Linked DNA regions of Homo sapiens: region 1 is linked to region 2. Evidence: promoter capture Hi-C in human tissues and cell types (Jung and others, 2019). All regions are on one chromosome and are shown on one strand. Each heading gives the region's core, a stretch centred on a gene start or on the middle of the fragment in contact. The rest is flanking DNA. Distances are from core to core; before and after follow the strand shown. Region 1 overlaps TTN (titin). Region 2 holds the start of ZNF385B (zinc finger protein 385B).

Region 1 (4,125 bases), core at 417-2,916, 1.1 Mb before region 2:
GGCTCACTCCCCTGGGCGAGTTTCAGAAACCAAATCTTTAGGGTGTCTGGGCCCACTGTGAATGCAAACACACGCACACACACATCACCAAAAAAGAATCCTCCATTGGCCTACCCCAGAGATGCTCTGTTTCACAGGTTAGATACTTATTTCCTTTAAACATTTCTGTATCATGCTCTGTAACTTCTTACCTCATATCCATGTTCTGTCTTAGGAACAGAAATTTTTGAAACAGTAAAGTGAGGGCTAGCTGTGCGGGGGCGTTTATCCACATGGACTAATCTTTCCGTTGTTAGATCTGTAGTTTTCTTGATCTGCATTGAAATGAAACTCAGTGATACCATTGATCACCAGATGACCACAGCAGTGAGGCTTGCTTTACCATGAACAAGGTGAAAAATCAGCAGGTATAGACTCACCTGTGATGATATGTGCATTCCCTTTTGATCAGTAGTTTTGATATGAGTCTCAGAAGGAGCCTGGATTACTCTAGGCTTGACTGCTTTAGGGACAACGTGGGGTTCTGAGGCTGGACGTTGGGGAGGCTCAGCTACCTTTGCGGCGGAAATGCGTTCCTTATATCCGTACTCCAAAGTGGTCTGCTGAGCATAGGATTCTTCAAGATGCCCAGGCTCTCTGGGCTCTCTGACTCGGGCCTGGTCTACTGCAGCAACAACTGTTGCTACAGCTTCAGCCTTTTTTCCAACGTCCACCTGGAGACAAGGTTTCCAGAATTAATACATAGGAATATCGAGATCAGGCTGGAATATCTCCTGGGCATCAGGACAGGCAGATGGCGTCCACATTATACAGCAGTGTTAACGTGTCTAGAAATGTATCTCAGAAACACTTTTAGGGACTATTTCATTGATTATTATATTGTACAGACATCTATTTAGATATACTCTCTGTACACCTACTTAATTATACTAGACATTAAATCACATATACACAACATAGGACAATCACAATATGAACATAAAATCACAAGAAGATTTTGAAATTTTCTAGAATTTTTCCAGGCAGACAATCAATCAGCAATTGGAAAATCAGAATTTTGGAGCTGGTTCTTTTCACTGATTATTTTTATTATCTTGTTGACCATTTAGTCTGGTATTAATGCAGTGACAGTGATGATATAAGTGCACTCAAATACCGTCATCATCCTGTCCAGAAAAATCAGTGACTACAGAGTTATATGGTTGCATGCAAATCGGACATAACATGAAAGCTCACAAACACAGAGTGAGCATATGAATTTACTTATGATTCCCTAAGGGTAAGATTGTTTAATCTATCAGAAAATACCTTTCTTAAAACACACAGATGACAAAGAGAACCCCGTGCAAATAAAAATATTGTGATTAAAATGAAAGTGTTATCATGTTTGGATTCAAGAGAACAACCTTTCACATTGAAGTTTAATTTACTTTCATTATTATGGAGAGTTAAAGCAAAGAATGAAACAAATATTATTTTCTCGTTTCTGAGTCTGATGAACATTAATGGAAATACAATTTGCAGAGGAGGTTCTCTTTTAAAGAAGGCAAACTAGCTGATGTGGCTTAGATATTATGATTCTATGTGATACTTGGAAACAGCATACCTCAAAAATCACATAGCCATGTTCATTTTAAAAGTACATTTTAAAAGTGCATTTTAAAAGTAAGATTGGAAAATTTTATTAATATTCAGTTTTCTATACCTGTGAATAGAATCTAGAATGCATCAGAAACATTCTTCAACTATGCTACCTGCATATCTTTAAAAATTATTCTCTGAACCATTCAAGATATAAATGAGATTTTTCTGAGATGGAATTGGGTCTTTAGTGATCATGGGCTTTATCCAGGGCTTCCTTTTAGGAAGACACAAACAATTTCATCTGCCTCGAAGGACTGCAAATACCATCTTCACTTTAGATTGCATCATCTCAGAAAAAAACATAAAATACACATGAGGCTTAGGTGAGTTAAGTTTGTCCATTTATTTTTTTCTTTTTTAAAAACTATATTGGCAATGAGCTGACTTTAATTGTATAGACATTTTAAAATGTTAACATCTTCGACAGATAACACTAAATAAATAAATATTATTTTGATTGTAGTGTGATCACATTTCCACTATATCTCATTTGAACCTTTTAGCCAGTCTGCTATGAAGTAGTCAGCTTAAGTCTTAATTTTATTTTAACAATGATAAAAGAAACTGTCAAAGAAACTGTCATATGACTAAATATCACACAACTGAAATATTTAAATTTTGTTCTTGATTTTAAACATATGGAAAAATCTTAATCATGGTAAAATATTTTAAATTGAGGAAGCATCTGTCTGTTTTTTCCTTGAATTATTGTATATCAGATTTATATACACACACTTATTGGTGGACTACAAATGAGTATGCTGGTAACCGCTTTTATTTCTTAGTGGACTTTGATATCTCTCACATGTTTGTAACCTAGAGAAGCAGGAAGACAAATTGGACTAGAATACTCCAATTCATACGAGTTAAATGCTGAGAATAAATTTAGGAGACATAAAGAAGAGTATTATTTGGTCTGACTTTTCACTACTAGAAATGCTCACTGTTCAACTGGAGGATGGACTGAATCTAACCATCTCTATTGTTTTATTGATCAGTTAAACAATTAGATGGAACACTAGAAGCACAATTCACGACGGATGAAAAGTTATGAGAGTTGATGATGAAATGGGATGAAACAATACTTTTCACCTCCATAGCATCAGTTTTCATCTCTTCTCGAAAAAGATGTATTTGTTTTTGTTTAATAGTGAATCCTTCTCTAGTCATTGGCGGTGTGGCTGGTTCAGCAGATTTTGCAGTGGTAACTACTACTTCAGGTATAAACATTTTCTCAGCTTCCATCCTTAGCTAATTTTTAACAAAAACAAGATAGTCAATTCATGACAAAATTTGAATGGAAACAAAAGTAAAAAGTTAATCACTCATGAAGTATGTTGCATAGTGGAATTTCTGTCATTTATGAGACTTCTGAAAGGCTGATATGCCATTAAATGTTAGATTTGAGTAAAGGTTTAAAAAGTTTATCTTAAATCATATCTTAGAAAAAAAAGATGTAGAGTCAGAAAATGACACTGAGGGAAATACAAATAGGATTCAGGCCATCCTGCTAATGAAATGGAAAAACTTTAGTTGCTAATTTTCAAGTGGTATATTAGCAATAAAGAATACAATTAGGTAAATGGCTCATTTGGAGTAAATGACAGAGTCATGGGAAACAGTTTAATTCATGGATATTTCATAGCTACAAATAGATACGGTAATCTTTTCATGGCTTATGTGTAATTGTTCTGTTTGGATACTTCCTTCTCTAGATTTTAATATGCATCTTGTTTAGCTTTAGTGGGAGCTGCTACAGCATGCATTATAATTTTTTCAGCTTATCTTCTCCTCTGATATTTACAGGAGGGAAAAAAGATAAAGTTTCATACAAAGAAAATTATGGGTAATTTACTGAAATAAGTCATACTCCATAACATAATATACTGAATTTATGACCCTTCAAAACACACATCTTCTTGACAGTGAGTAAGAGTCATCATTTACTTATACATCTTCCGTGTTTTTAAAAAATGTTCATGGGCCTCTTAAAATTAGCCTGCATGCAATTTTAATCAACTTCTGGAAGATTCCCAGATGTTAATAAAATGTTGACAATAATGGTGAAGAGATAAGTGGAGAAAGGGATATGTAGTAATATTAACAATAATAAATTTTTTTAGTTTCCAATTATTTAATTGTCTAAAAAATAAATTTGGTTAATAGTGACTCATACATAAGAAATTCAGAGACTTGATATTAATGTATTACAATAAGGAATTTCACATGATATGTGGTATTAATGTATTATAATAGGGGATTTCACACTTGGAACAACAATAGTCACCTTTCCATGGGTAACTTGGATTTGTTCTTGTCTAGTAGCCATAGTTTCTCTAGTTCTCAGTATTGTTTCTTGTTCTTTGGCTTTAGCAGTAGCAACTGCTATTGTAGACAAGGCAGTTTTCTCGGCTTCCTTTCTCATCTGATTATTACAGTAAAATCAAGATTTAAGTTGAACAGGGCTTCAAACACACATAG
Region 2 (3,897 bases), core at 447-2,946:
TTCTTTCAAGCCAAAGCCTTTAACTTACCTAAGATGTAGCTTATTGACTTTATGAAAAGCCCTCTTTTTAATTAGATAAATGCATTTCCTACCGTTTCATGAATTGTGTGGACGCTGCCAGTTTCCACGCTTTAGGCTAGGCCCTATAACAGAAATGTTTTGTTCCTTCTATAGGAACATCTTTTGCTACTACATCTTGACAAAGTTTGCATTCCCCTTGGTGTGATATTCCTCAGCAAAGCAAAACCAAAAGGAAATGCAAACCTCATCTCTGTATGAAAATGAAAGAAGACGTTTCCCAACCCAAGAACTTTTGAGAGCATTCCAAAACTGCGTTATTTTGTATTCATGGGCGTGGGGAGAGGGGGGATACTTCTTGGCAATTTATTTCCCCTGAAGAACAGCACTCCCTATCCAGGTTCACCATAAAAACTGTGTGTCCTCCAGAGTCTAGGGAAGCATCGTCCTGCCAGCTCTCCCTTCTCCCCACAGGCCCCCGCACATAACAGTGGCGAAACAGATGGTCCTCCCCCTCCCCTTCTCCTCGTCCCTTCCGCAGTCCCACAGTGTCCTCCCACCCTTCCCTGACACCTTCACCAGCGCTTAGTGGCCGAGGCCGCCCGTCAGGGCTCCCAACAAGTGCAAACTTCGGGGACCTTCTCTCTGCTCCTCTGCCCCCATCTCATCTGGGTTCTGCTGCAGAACTCTCCCACGACCCCAAGCTTCGACCGCTACCCTCCTCACACACCTCGGTCCCCTAACTACCCATTTCCCGGTCATTGAGAGAAAGACAAACCCCAAACTTCCAGCCCAGGTGACGAGGCGCTGCGGCTAAACATAGCGGGGCACTCTCCTCGTCCTTTCCCCTCTCCATCCGTCCTTGGGAATTGGAGCCTACCCTGGGGAACAGAGGAGTATGCTCCTGTGGCTTCCACGACCTAATCCTAACTCCAGGGACTCGCAGGAGTTAGGATTAGGTCGTGGAAGCCACAGGCGCCTGGGCGCCCTCCTCTACAAGTGGGACCTTGAGACAAAGTGCAAACTCTACCGGGAGGGGGGCTCCTGGCCATTCCCTCGGGCGGCGCGCCCAGGTGCAGGCTCGCTCTGCGGAGGAGGGCGGGGGCCGGGCAAGCAGAGGGCGCCCAGTCCGGGGGCGCCGGTCTGGGCTGGGCGCCCAGAGCTTACCTCGGCGCGCGGGCCGCGGGCGCGTGGGGCAGTGGCTCCTCCAGCCGGGAAGCTGTTGCTCACGCTCCGGTGGTTGCTGCGGTCCCGCCAGGGCTGCACCGGGGCTTCGCGCAGACGTTCTCCCGCGATCTGCTGCAGCCCAGGCGGTGGCGGTGGCGGTAGCAGCGGCGGCGGTGGAGGTGGCGCGGGCGACAGCTCGGCCCGGCGCGGCCCCTGAACTGTCCAACTCTTGCCCGCGCCGGGCTTAAGCGCCCGGCCGCTGCCCCCGCGCTGAGCGCCTGCGCACCGGGCCTCGCCCAGGTGAGGGGCGTGTGCCCGGAGCCCGCTGGGCGCGCCCGGCCCGGCCCGGCCCCGCCGCACGCCCGCCCCCCTGGCCTGGCCGAGGACCCCGGGGTTTGGACGTGCCAACGCCACTCTCGCGCGCCGAAGCTGTGACGGTTTACTAAGCAGAGACTTGCGAGGCACACAGAGAGGGAATGAGGCGGAACCGTTCGGGGGCTCGTTGACACTGCAGAGCCTCCCGCAGCATCGCTGCCTTAAATCCCGCCTTTCCAGGCGTGCGCGCACAGCGAGCCAGAGGAGGCTCCGTCCCGACCTGGGGTCCCCCGCGGTCCTCAGCCCGGGGGCTCGGGTCCCCGAAGAGATCCTTGGCAATGGCAGAGGTCCCAAAGCCTAGATGCCAAGCCCCGCGATGGGGCGGATGCTTCCAATATTAGTCAACCCAGAGTGAAACTCTCTTCTTGGAGATCGTCAGACCAACTATTTGTTTTTCCTCTTTGACCACCCCTGGGCTAGCAGAGCACAGCTAGCAGCTTCGGCATATTTGGCGGAGCCGGGAAGGCCCGGAGCGCAAGAAGGCATCGCAGCCTCGCAGCAGATCTGAAAGGGTTGTGGGCGGGGGGCTCATTTTCGCCGGATTTCTTTTCCGTGTTTAAGTTTTCAAAACTAAAACCTGTCATCGGTTACCCTGATGTAGAGGGCATCTTCTGAAAATTAGTGCAAACATGGCCAAGGTGCTTGGTTCTGAAAGGGAAAGCACTTAGAACACTTAAGAAAGGGAAAATAATTTTAAAAGAGCAGTTTTCTGAGATTACTTCTTTGGGGAGAAGTTCAATAGTCATAAATGACAAGAGAGTTGTGTTATATAGCAGGGATTTTTTTTTAACCAGATGATCTTAAAATATTTTTCTTTGGTTCTTGTCTCAGATGATTGACACTACGTAAATAATCCTGCAGCTGTTAATGTCTTGGCATAATCGTCTAGAATAAATATCTTAACGTCCAGCCAAAGCCAATGTTGTTCTCCCAGGGTGGGCTTCAGATGTGACAAACAATCACACCATCCTAGAGCTTTCTAAGGGAGCAGGCTGTGTTTTTAAGCACCTTGGAATGTAGAGTTATTGCAAGCACCAGCACATTTGAGGTACCAGCGTGAGAAAGGGCATAAATCTGACTTACAGTTTTTGTATTTTTAGAATCCAAATATCTTCACATCCAGGTCGGCAGTCTCAATACTAAGAACAAACGTTTATTGGTGTGCTTATTCTTAAAACTGTACCTTATTTGAAGTTGCTACAGAAGGACAGCACCAAAATTCAATCATTTTAACCCAAAAGAACATGAGCTATGATAATTGCTTAAATTATCTTTCACAAAATTATGATCTTAAGGTCTCTTGTCATCAATAAAGGTTATGTTGAAAACACGTCTTTCACAAGTCCCTGAAGGTCAGTAAGATGGAGCTCTGGCAGACTGGGACAAGCAGGAAATTCCAGAGGCAAAAACCTTCCATGAGAAAAACACCCAGCTTCCAGTGCCATGCACTTCAGAGTTGGGACAGCGTGGTTGTCGAGGTTGCCTCTGAGCTCAGGTAAGTATTGATATCTCCAGGAATCTAAGATGCAGAGAAAGGGGTGAGGGCCCCTTAAAGTCTCCAGTCAACACCTTGGATTGCACTTGGAGGCAAATGAGTAACCTCTGCAGAGTGGAACACCTGTGAGAAGTGTTCTCCGTGGCTTGCACAGTTTAGCAGCATGTGCATTTTTTATGTCCTGCAAACTGCAACTATATCCTTCCCTCCTCCCTGTCTATTTTTAATCACCTATAGCTAAGACTCACGGCAGAGAATAATTTGAGGGTTGCATTTCCTAACAGCTGAAAGAAGCATAAAATACATGCAGACAACTCCCAATTATTCACCTGTGACATAACTGACTAAGAATCCTGCCCTTCACGTCCTTAGCCAAGGCAGGATTAAGGCCTCTGGAGCCCCAAGCACAAAACAATTGCAGTGCCTCCTTTGTAAACGCACTTCAATATGGAAACAACATTAAATTTAAAAACACAATATTTAAATATATAGAGAAAAAACAGCTTCTGTCTCGATTTTCTGATGCAAATGTGTTTCTATTGTATAATTTGTCATTGAACATGCCTTTACAGTGTTATCTGACATAGGGGATTCTCCTGTCCTCAAAGCCTCCAAGCACCATTTTCCTGGAAACATTCTGGCTCACTCCTGGCAGTAATGGAGTAAACCGACTCAGAGAACTATAGCCCTAGGTTCGGGGCGTTAGGAAAGTGGTCAGGATAGCAGCAACACTGGAAGGGTAGTTCATCAAGGAAAGAGCCCAAATATCAAGGAGGAACATAACAGAAAGGGATTAATTTAAGGTTTTTTTTCTACTTTTGTGTTTATGAAGTGTATAGTGC

The links. The method cuts DNA at HindIII sites, captures the fragments that hold promoters and counts their contacts. A contact is called where the count stands out against the background at its distance.
Region 1: a contact is called between a fragment that was not itself captured here and the fragment with the promoter of ZNF385B in region 2, in 1 of the 25 tissues and cell types used here (dorsolateral prefrontal cortex).

What each region holds. Positions count from the first base shown.
Region 1 is chr2:178,785,429-178,789,553 of GRCh38, forward strand. TTN (titin) reads right to left here. Exons shown (of 363, transcript NM_001267550.2): 13 at 3,932-4,069; 14 at 420-713; 15 at 192-314. Among named protein-coding and RNA genes, the nearest start is that of TTN, 20 kb to the right of the region's middle. The HindIII fragment of the contact is 6,263 bases long and covers 1-4,125 here.
Region 2 is chr2:179,859,916-179,863,812 of GRCh38, forward strand. It overlaps ZNF385B (zinc finger protein 385B), which reads right to left and starts at 1,697. Exons shown (of 10, transcript NM_152520.6): 1 at 1,186-1,697. MIR1258 (microRNA 1258) reads right to left here and starts at 993; the gene lies at 921-993. The HindIII fragment of the contact is 6,066 bases long and covers 217-3,897 here.